2 separate regions of the Homo sapiens genome follow, and region 2 is linked to region 1. The links are contacts of gene promoters, found by promoter capture Hi-C in blood cells and fetal thymus (Javierre and others, 2016). All regions are on one chromosome and are shown on one strand. The core of a region is centred on a gene start or on the middle of the fragment in contact, and the rest is flanking DNA. Distances in the headings are between cores, read along the strand shown.

Region 1 (5,952 bases), core at 904-3,403:
AGCTATTTTCACTTGCATAATCAAAGTTTAACTCATGTTTCATTTATCAGTCAAATAAAGTGGATTTACTAACTATATATATACACATTATACATACATATATATATTACATTTTAGTTTTCTGATCAGTATTTGCCCCCAAAACAAACATACAAAGGAGATTATAGGTAAAAGAACTCAGCGTCTGTACTGAATTAAACTACAAAGTAAAACGTCTTGGTAAGTAAAATGTTCATCCTGAGAAAATAATTAGTATTTCCTTGTCAAATACAATAATAAACTGAAATTCTTAACTACTGGCTTCAGCATCTAAAAGATGGCGCGATTGTTGTACCGTTCTTATTTCACGGGACCAATTGACAACATACAAATACTTTAACAAGATTTTGGTGAGAGGGTAAAAAACGATACACACAGGAATATTCCAGGGCCAAGTTACGCAACAATTCACGTGGGAGTAACTAAACATGCTGCAATTAATAAGCACATATAGGTTTAAAAATGCTGCTGTCAATGTTGGAGATAACGCAAGAATTCTACTTTTAAATAATAATAATTTTTAATAAGCAACATGAAGCTACGTCAGCGCTCTTTACGGTCTATTCCTTGCTAAGGTTTCCGGGTTAATACCTCCACCCTCTTCCCAAGCTTCCCCCTTTATTGCTCCTCCCCCTTTTTACCCGCCATCTTGGCTGATAGGAGCAGCCATTAACTAAACGACAGTGCCAACTTTTCACACAAACAACAAATTCTTCCCACTGTGAGCATGACACCTAAGAAACAAGGTTCCTGAATGGAAAAAGCACACACATTCATGAAATCACATTTGCAGCACTGTGCATCCTAAAAAAGTCAACAAATCACTAAACTTCAGGCTAAACATACACGCATCAGTTTATAGGTCAAATATCTACTGCAAACTCTTCACCGCTGTAACTTACTTGCTACTTACACTTAGGACACCAGGGATATTTTTTTTAAAAAGGCAAAAAAATGTTTAAAATTAGACACCAAGAGCCAAATACCAAAAGGCGAGGGGAAGAAGCAGGAAGTTATGAATTTTGAAAACTGTACACATTCACTATTTGTGACGCTAAAATTCAGGAACAAAAGGCCCTAAAGTAACAGGCATGTGGTGTAGACCCGGTTTAGCCCGGTCCCAAAGCGTCCGATTTTTTTTTTCCTCAGAGTAGAAGGGAGTCTGGAGCAAGGGGCGAAGTATTCCAGAGTACGGGGACAGCAAAGGCAAGAAACACTTTTCCGACCCCTTGGCCATGGAGCAGAGCCAAAATAAATACTGGCTGGGCGGTAAGGAACGCGGGGCCTTGGTAGAGCAAAGTGCGGACCAAAGACTTTGCGTCTGGTTGCTTTTACCTTGCCTAGTAGGGTCTTCGTTCTGGCGCCATCTTCATGAAGCCTCACGAACCCGAAGAGACGGCTGTAGAGAGAGAGACACAGAGCTTGTTAATGGTCTGAGAAAGCCAGTGACTTGCTCCTTCCCGAGTCCAAGAGCGACAGCGACAGATTGGTGAGTGCCAAGCTGAGGATGACCCCGTCATCAACGTGGGCAAGCTGCGTCCAGGCCTTCCCGGAGAGTATCGCCAGCCAACCAGGCGGGTGATGGAGGTGCGTACCTGTCCATGCCACCAAGCGCCTCCCTTTCCTCGACTGTCAGGCTAACAGACTCCTCTTCACTCTCGCGGCTCGCTTTTCCTTCCGCCATTTTCTTTGCCTCATCACCGAAGGCAACAGCGGCGGTAGTGAGCGACACTGCGCAGGATTTCATGGAAACAACAAATTTCCAAGTCCCACGACGATACCCAACCTTAATCGAGTAGTTGAAAAGACGCCTTCAATCGCTGCTTGAGACTGTGACGCCAATTTTATCGCCTCCTCAGCGGCTGCAAGGAAAAAAGCTGAGGCAAAGACTTAAGCTACCGAAGCACGGGCAGCGGAACTCGGCTACCTGGATCACATCTGGGAAACTACAGGGAAGGCAGAAGCTCGCAGTGCTGGAGAGCACAGCAGAATTTCTTAAAATCACAAACTTTGCCAGCACCAGCACAAAGTTGTAATTGTGTCACGGGCGAACCCCACGCAGCCGCCGCGACCTCCCCGCTCCCAACCACTTAGTTGTAGCCAATCTAGGCGACTGATTCGTCTCACGTGATCTTTGTTGACTTACGTCAGGCATTGCTCCACTGTACTCCTAGGCTGCTGGGACCCCGCCCAGCCAGTTCGCCAAGGACCTAGGAACATGACAGAGGCTGACTGATTCTGACCGCTGGTTGGTTGATGGTCACGTCTATGGAGAAAAGGGTAGTCTCTGGGATGGAACAACCTGTAGGTTGTGCTAGTTAAATGCATTAAGATAGAAAATGGAGTGTCTGTGCTGGGTGTTTTTGCAGTTGCGATACGCTTGAAGGGGAAGAGAGCGATGGGAAGGGCGGCATCGGGCATCACCCACGGGGCGCAAATGCGAAAAGAGGACACCATGGACTTTAGGAGAGTCCGTAATGAGGCTCCCACTGTCACAAGCCTTGCGAATGCGAGACCTTGCGGGGCATGGCAGGGAAGCTGCGCAGGCCCTAAACCTTCACCCTCAAGACTTTTGGCCCTAAGGCCTTGTCACCTCCATAGGCTGGTTCTTTGCCCATTTCCTCTCCACTGACCAAGTCTAAAGAGAAGGCATAATATCTTATGACCTCAGTCGGTAAGCCAGGCCCTAGGGAATCAACGTGGCAACTGCATTTATCAGTTCATGATATTATCTAAACAACAAACGATGAGCAAAAAAAAAAAAAAAAAAAAAAGTTACTCCACAAACCCAAAATGTTTATTTCTATTGTGATAATGATAATTCCGTGAGGTCTCAGTAAGAGTAGGAGCTTCTGTGGACAGGAATTATAAGAACAATAATTAAGACCTTCATCACACTTTCAAGATGCAGTAACCCTTAGAAAAGAAAAAAACACCACTTTTTTCTTACTTTCTCAATTGTAACCAAAATTATAAATAATAGGTAAAAGAATTTATTTCTGAACCCCAAATATCTGAGAGAGGTCTTAGTCAATTTAAAAAGTTTATTTTGCAAGACTTACCCATGATACATTTGCCCAAGGTGGTCAGGGCACAGCTTGCTTTTGTACGTTTTAGGGAAACATGATTGGTTCGGTCAGGTAAGAGGGACAGCTCGAAGCGGGGGCTTCCATGTTAGAAATAGATAAGAGACAGGTCGGGCGCTGTGGTTTACGCCAGTAATCCCAGCACTTTGGGAGGCCGAGGCGGGCAGATGACCTAACGTTGGGAGTTTCAGACCAGCGTCACCAACATGGAAAAACCCCGTCTCTACTAAAAATACAAAATTAACAGAGCATGGTGGCGCATGCCTGTAATCTCAGCTACTCTGAAGACTGAGGCAGGCGAATCGCTTGAACCCAAGAGGCGGAGGTTGCGGTGAGCCGAGATGGCACCATTGCATTCCAGCCTGGGCAACAAGAGCAAAACTCCGTCTCAAAAAAAAAAAAAAAAAAAAAAATGTAGATAAGAGACAAGAGTTTGCATGCTTTTGAGTCCTTGATCAGCCTCCTACTGAATACAGAATTTAGTCCGGCTAGTAACTCTGTATTTTTACATAAATAAATAATAAGGCAGAGGAAGCAATCAGATATGCAGTTGTCTCTTGTGCGCCTCACAGGGATAACTTTGAGTTGGGTCTGTCCTTTGTCCACAAGGAATTTCCTTGTGGGCACGTTGTGAGGAACGTATGTAGCTTCTTATCTTTGTACGTATCTTATTTAGGAATAAAATGGGAGGCAAGTTTAGTGACATAGTTCCCAGCTTGACTTTTCCGTTACTTAGTGATTTTGGGATCCCAAGATTAATTTTTTTTTCTCATATTATATGGCATATGTATGTTGAGGAATTGTGTATATTTTTCTATGTAAAGAATCTATAAAAAGTCTCATATATATTAAACGCCTCTGTTGATTACTGTTTTCAAAAGACAAATTGCATAATATTCCATGTATCAAATAGTTTACTGGTTATACCTCCAGATATTAGATATTACAAAAATGTTAATTATTAATGGCATTAGGGGAAATGTTCCTTTATAAGTGAAGAAATGGTATCTTTTTTTAAGTAATAGATTTGCCTCCTCCAAAAATAGGTATTATATATTTAAACTTTGATGTTTAAATGAGAGGACAGTTTAGAACTTCCAGACAAAAAACTATAACACTAGTGAGAGTTTTGGAAATCCCAGCTGATTTTGCTCAGTAACACGTGTTTTCATTGTTATTTTGAAACTAACAACTAACTCTGATTTTATAGATTATAGTCTATCATGTTCTTTACTCATTCCATTTCAGTTGAATCGCTACACCACAGAATATTTTCAGTAGCTGTACTATTGAAAATGTTATATTAATTGTCATAAGTATATTAGTAAGTATATTAATTGTCATAGTGGTGGCCATCACACCAAGAGGTTTTTGATAATATGCATACATTTGCACAAGCAGACATTCAAATAATGTAGAATATGGCCTTTTCCAGGAATAAGGCCTACCTGTCTCACTTGAGGCAGGTAATTATTACAAAGTGATAGAGCAACATAGAGGTGGGACAGAAATTGCAGTAAAGAATGAATTTGAATTCTGGCTCTGTACAGGCTGTACCTTGGAAAAATTAGCTAATCTCTAACCCAACATTATATATCGAATGTAAATACAAAGCTGCATCCATCCTCATACCTTCATGTACATTTGGCAGATTATAAATCAGACAGTATATAACATTAAGGCCTTACATTCTATGTAACTTTTTGGATCTTACCTGGTTTATAAAATGTAACTACAAAAGATACAAAAATATGTATACTGATAAAAGGCTTATTATTTGTACCCTTTGTAGTGTATAATTTGTCACATGTATGTGAAATGGGTATAAAGCATTCAGATTTAGGTTATTCCCTGAAGAGACTAGACTAATGACTTTATATTATTTTTAAAAAAAAATTTAGTATAACAACACATGGAAGGTAGGGTGGTATAGCAAAAGAAGAAGTAACAAAAATGAGCATTAATTATCGGAAAATTAGAGGATATAACCATTTAACCTGATATATGTGAATGCATGTAGCTTATTTTTTAAATTTATTTATTTATTATACTTTAAGTTCTGGGATACATGTGCAGAACGTGCAGGTTTGTTACACAGGTATATATGTGCCATGGTAGTTTCCTGCACCAATCAACCTGTCATCTAGATTTTAAGCTCTTCATTCATTAGGTATTTGTTCTAATGTTCTCCTTCCCCTTGAACCCCACCCCCGATAGGGCCCAAGTGTGTGATGTTCCCCTCCCTGTGTCCGTCTGTTCTCATTGTTCAATTCCCAATTATGAGTGAGAATATGTGGTGTTTGGTTTTCTATTCCTGTGTTAGTTTGCTGAGAATCATGGCTTCTGGCTTCATTCATGTCCCTGCAAAGGATATTAACTCATTCTTTTTTTATGGCTGCATAGAATTCTATGTTATGTATATGCTGGATTTTGTTTATCCAGTCTATCATTGATAGGCATTTGGGTTGGTTCCAAGTCTTTGCTATTGTAAATAGTGCTGCAGTACACATACATGGGCATGTGTCTTTATAGTAGAATAATTTATAATCCTTTGGGTGTATACCCAGTAATAGGATTGCTGGGTCAGATAGTATTTTTGGTTCGAGATACCTGAGGAGTTGCCACACTGTCTTCTACAATGGTTGAAATAATTTACACTTCCACCAACAGCATAAAAGCATTCCTGTTTCTCCATGTACTTGCAAGTATCTGTTGTTTCCTGACTTTTTTTTTGAGATGGAGTCTCTGTTGCCCAGAGTGCAGTGGCGTGATCTCAGCTCACTGCAAGCCCCGCCTCCCGGGTTCATGCCTTTCTCCTGCCTCAGCC
Region 2 (5,597 bases), core at 85-2,584, 260 kb after region 1:
GAGCTAACATAAATAATATCCCCAAATCCACACTTCTAAAACCTTCCACAGGGTCTACCTGGTGTTCAGATCCAGGCAGTCTTTTTCAGGCTCTACATTTTCAGCAGCTTTTATTTAACTGATTGTCTTGGGTACTTGCAATATTCCAGGCATGATTCCTGCACTGGGTGATGGGGGCAGGATTGTGCATGTGTCTCGCCCTATGGAAAAGCCCAACAGGGAGATGGTCTTACGTAGCAAAAGCTCAGGGCAGAGGTGGTTGAGACACATGCAAATCTTAGAGCTCTGCAGAGCAACTAGGGAAAGGCCCCAAGAACCACTTGTAGACACCGCCTCTTTGTATAGCTGCTGCCCCCATCACCCAGTGCAGGAATCATGCCTGGCATATTGCAAAGTACCCAAGACAATCAGTTAAATAAAAGCTGCTGAAAACATAGAGCCTGCAAAAGACTGCCTGGATCTGAACCAAATAGACCCTGTGGAAGCTTTTAGAAGTGTGGATTTGGGGATATTATTTATGTTAGCTCATTGTATAGCTGCTTGACACAAAGCAGTCTTCATCTCTGGGAAGGAAACTGAGGATCTGTGGTGGGCCCTGGTCAAAAATAAATGACCCACACCTGGCCAGAGCTCCTCACCCAAGTGGACACCAGGCCAGGGCTGGGCAAATGAGATTCTGGTTTTTACAGCATAGAGAGGAGAAGTCAGAGCCCCAGTACTGACTGGGCTCTGTAAAGTAGAGCAAGAGCATCCCCAATTCCTGCTGCATGGGCTTCTTTCCCATGCAAAGCCTCCTTGTCCAACTTGCCCTTTGATTCTATCACCTGGAACAGAATTATTTCAAGAACGGTGACGAATCCAGAAGGATGCAAAAAGAGGCTCCAGGGAAAAAAACTGGCGAAGAGACATGGGAAATCTAGGCATATGTGCTGTTTAGGAACAGGAGTTTCAAAGGAAGGGGTCTTGGGAATAAGTCAGTCCCATAAGCTCAACAAGGTAAGAGCAAAACAGTTGGGGAGATTTTGTATCCTCAGCAAGAAGTAATTCCCTGGTCTGCTGAGTGGCTTGAAGTACAATTAGTGGGAAAATTTCTGGTTCAAGATGATGGAAAATACCCCTGTTCTACTTTGAAAAAATGAACTACAATAACGAGGAAAGGAAATAACTGTCCGTCTAGAATTCTCTTCTAAAAAGAGTATTCTCCAAAAATAAAAATGAAAAAAAAGACATTCCAATATATCCCCTCAAGAAATCTGAGAAAATACATTTCCTATAGAACCATATTAATATATCTATTATCTATCTGTCTATGTATCTATCTAATCTATCTGTAATTACATATAATTACAGATAGATTATATTAAATATATGTAATTATATATGTAAGTTCTTCCTTAAAATTAATCTTAAATATAATTACATATATTTAAGTTCTTCCAGAAGGAATGATCCCAGATGGAAACATGGAAATGTAAGAAAGAAGAAGCAATGGAAGGGATAAATAAATATAAAAACAAATCATAATGAATATTGATTATAATGTTTGTGAAAACATAATTTTTGTGAAATTTGAATTACATAATGAGAATCAAAATGTACAAATTAACAAAGAAAAAATAGAGTTTACAAACAGTCCCTGTAATTATGGAAATTTTATATATATATATATATATATATATACACAAAAAAATTATATACACATATCTAAATATCTCTCTCTCTATCTATCTATTTATCTAGTATCTTATAATCCTTAATCTCTGTGTAGGTAGTTATGACAGTCATAATTTTAAAGTTTTGCAGACCAGAGTAAAAAGTCCTTTGATATTAAATAAAAAATGAACAAGTGCACCTAATTCTCTGAAAATACAAAAAGGCTTAGATTGCTTTTCATTTCTTTTTTTGTGCATAATGGCAAGAAGCAGTAATTCACTTGGCAATATTCTACTAATATGAGTGAGCTGACAGTTCTCCAATCATGCCACTGGTCTTCACTGGGTTCCTCTGTATAATAACTCAGGAACATCACTGCCTGTATGAACGCTCTCAGCTGAACCAACTGAACCTCCCCTATGTGTGAAAAGCATTACAAACATTGAGACGTTGGAAATAAGTTTCTCAGGAAAAAATACCACCTGACTGCTCGACAATTCAGAATGATAATTATTTGCAGGAGGAGAAAAAGAAGCTTGTTTAATACATATCCATACCTCTCCTTCAGTCTCTTTTTGAGCACAGAAGTTGTTACCATATTGCTAGGTAACTGAGCTATCTCAGGCAATGTCCAGAAAGACCAGGGAGAAACACTCCCACTAGGAATCCCCACTTAAACGTTAGGCAAATCCCATTAACCATTTTTTTTCTTTTCTGTTTTCTCATTTTTCAGAAAACAGGGTCTCGCTGTGTCACACAGCATGGAGTGCAGTGGTGCGATCATAGCTCACTGCAGCCTCTATCTCCAGGCTCAGGTGATCTTGCTTCAGGCTCTCTGGGACTAGAGGCGTGTACCGCTTTGCCTTACTTTTTCTTTTCTGGAGCGGGTAGGGGGAGATACGAGGTCTTGTTATGTTGCCCAGGCTCCATTTACCATGTTTGATATCCAAATGTTGTCCATCTGTGTCCCAGCGAAACACAGATTACTAAGAAAAAAGGCAAACTGAACTCCTGGCTTTGGCACTCCCTGGAACTCAAAGTCAACTTTGATGTGCTACATAGTGCCTGAGGAGGGCTGGGCATTCAGAGGCCCAGAAACAATGAGAAGAGGCCGGAAGGGAGTCAGCTTTGCTTTCAGACTCTCAAACACCCAAAATTCAATCTTAGAATAGAATATTCTTCAGCTGGTTCACACTAGCCACTATAGAAAATCCTGGAAGTAGGGCTCACACCTGTAATCCCAGCACTCTGGGCGGCCAGGGAGGGCAGATAAACTGAGATCAGGAGTTCAAGACCAGCCGGGCCAACATAGTGAAACCCCTGTCTCTACAAAAATTATCCGGGGTATGGTGGCACAGGCATATAATCCCAGCTGCAAAAAAAAGTGGTTCCAAACAGAGGCTTCCATAGACGTAACTCACAGACAGTCTACCTTTGTCAGTTAATTTTGCAGGGAATAGTTGGAAAGTTTTTAAAAGCTAGGGAAACAATTATTCGAAACTGCTATACTAATTTCCCTAATTTAGGTCAGTGTGACTGTAGAGATGCAGGAATGGCTTGCAATATTTAAATCCACACTAGATGTAATCTAGTAGGTGCTAAGTGCGATTGTGGCATGACTACCCCAGTGAGAAATATGCCGTAGAGTGGGCAGCTTTGTCCTAAAATTAGGTTATTGTCACACACGGAGGGTTCTGTGCTTTCCTTCCCGTTTCATTTAAATGGCCAGCGTGTGGCGCTGTCTCCCGTTAAAAATCTGCTTTTGTAATTTCCAGAGGCTTCTCCCCAAACACCTTGGTATTTATATGCCTCCGTGTAAATTTTGATAGGCTTGAAAACATCAGAGAAACTGAAGACTTTTTTTGTTTTGTTTTGTTTTGTTTTGTTTTTTGAGACGGAGTCTCAGTCTGTTGCCCAGGCTGGAGTGCAGTGGCGCGATCTCCCACTGCAACCTCCGCCTTCCGGGTTTAAGCAATTCCCCTGCTTCAGCCTCCGGAGTAGCTGAGACTATAGGCCCCCCACCACCATGCCAGCTAATTTCTGTACTTTAAGTAGAGACGGGGCTTTACCATGTTGGCCAGGCTGGTCTCCAACTCCTGACCTCGTGATTCGCCCGCCTCCCAAAGCGTTGGGATTACAGGTATGAGCCACTGCGACTGGCTGACTTTTAACAGAATAGAGTTTCAGTAACTCTGAAGAGCACCTGTAGATTTATCTTCATATTTAAACATGAAATTCAGAATAAATGCGATTACTTATTTGAACTTTGTTTAAAAAACTGCCTCAAAAAAGTCTCACTTTACAAAATGATAAGTACAAATTTTACTGAAAAGTATATTACGCATGTCACATGAAAAGTAGGACACTCAAAAGTTAGAAATGTCATTTTTAATTAAAAGTTACATTATTTAAGACTTCATTAAACTTTTGCTTCTATTAATTGTTTTATGCTTCTCCAAATATTTGTTTAGGGACAAGCCAGTAACATTTTTGTCATGTCAAGAGCCAGAAGTACAATGGTTACTGTTTATATTTTTAAGTGGCCTCTCATATTTGACTTTAAGTGTTCCCACCTATTTGTATGTTTTTCACTGTCTATGGCTTATATGTAGAATTTGACATGAGAGCCCTAAGTATTTATGGTTGCTTATAGTAGCATTGGTAACATTAGAAGTAGGGTAAAATTAGTTAACTGTCTTGTCACTGGGGCAAGTATTCAGTTTTACTGGCATCAGGCAGCCTGTGAAACCACTGGGTTTCAAAAACCCACCCTCCTTGCTGGGTGCAGCATCTGTTCTGCTGTGTAAGACACCAGAATCAACAGAGGCCATCATATGTGCTGGAGAGACAGATTCACGGTAGGGTTTTGAGAGGGAAATCACACCCACAGCCAAACATCACCATAGCCATCACCAGATAATTGCCTTTGACATGTGAAAATGCACCCTCTGACACACTTTATTATTTGTAATTATTTTAACTTTGGTAACCATTGCATCCAGGAAAAAAACTTCAGCCATGACCTAGTCTAGATTCTCAGCACAAGTGTAGAGCAGGCAGCAAACAAATTTAACACTGATTGATGGTGACATGACATGAGAGGGCAAAGAGAAATTCTTGAGAAGTAGTGGTAGTTAGAAGTCATAGTATTAGGCAATTCTTTGTATATTTTGTAAAATAAGTTTAAAATGTCATTAAAATAGTCTTCAGTGCAGAAAAGTAATAGGAAACACAATTCTGAAACTTTGTAAAATCTTAGGAAACATCACGGTGACTAACAAAAGTGATCTCTTTAAACTGTGTGGACTGCAACTACATTTTTATAATCTTGTTGAAAGGGAAAATGTGTTACATGCTAAAATTATACCCAAATAGGGTATCTAGCCTTGCAAGATAATAAAAGAAAGCAGAGGACTATAAATGGATGTGGTGGTCTTTTGTGCAAACAGCAGTGTATATTCAAAGACCCTATGCCGAAAGTAATAATTATTATTTGTAAAATCATTAAATTGGCCATCAGAGACCACATGGGTACAGTACCATGAATGTGAACCTCATTCTTGCCTGAAGCCAAATTGCAAAAGATGCAAATTTGACATTTATCCATTTGGTTCTTTTATTTATTTATTTTTATTTTTATTTTTTAATTATTATTGTACTTTAAGTTTTAGGGTACATGTGCACAATGTGCAGGTTAGTTACATATGTATACATGTGCCATGCTGGTGTGCTGCACCCACTAACTCCTCATCTAGCATTAGGTATATCTCCCAGTGCTATCCCTCCCCCCTCCCCCACCTCACAACAGTCCCCAGAGTGTGATGTTCCCCTTCCTGTGTCCATGTGTTCTCATGGTTCAATTCGCACCTATGACCGAGAATATGCGGTGTTTGATTTTTTGTTCTTGTGATAGTTTACTGAGAATGATGATTTCCAATTTTATG

What was found. The method cuts DNA at HindIII sites, captures the fragments that hold promoters and counts their contacts. A CHiCAGO score of 5 or more calls a contact.
Region 2: a fragment that was not itself captured here is called in contact with the fragment with the promoter of UTY in region 1 in 2 of 17 cell types (M2 macrophages and megakaryocytes); the score reaches 8.7 in M2 macrophages.

What each region holds. Positions count from the first base shown.
Region 1 is chrY:13,477,880-13,483,831 of GRCh38, forward strand. UTY (ubiquitously transcribed tetratricopeptide repeat containing, Y-linked) reads right to left here and starts at 2,154. Exons shown (of 30, transcript NM_001258249.2): 1 at 1,635-2,154; 2 at 1,375-1,438. The coding sequence starts at 1,786. MIR12120 (microRNA 12120) reads left to right here and starts at 1,298; the gene lies at 1,298-1,387. The HindIII fragment of the contact is 7,265 bases long and covers 647-5,952 here.
Region 2 is chrY:13,735,429-13,741,025 of GRCh38, forward strand. No RefSeq gene overlaps it. Among named protein-coding and RNA genes, the nearest start is that of TMSB4Y, 34 kb to the left of the region's middle. The HindIII fragment of the contact is 1,703 bases long and covers 484-2,186 here.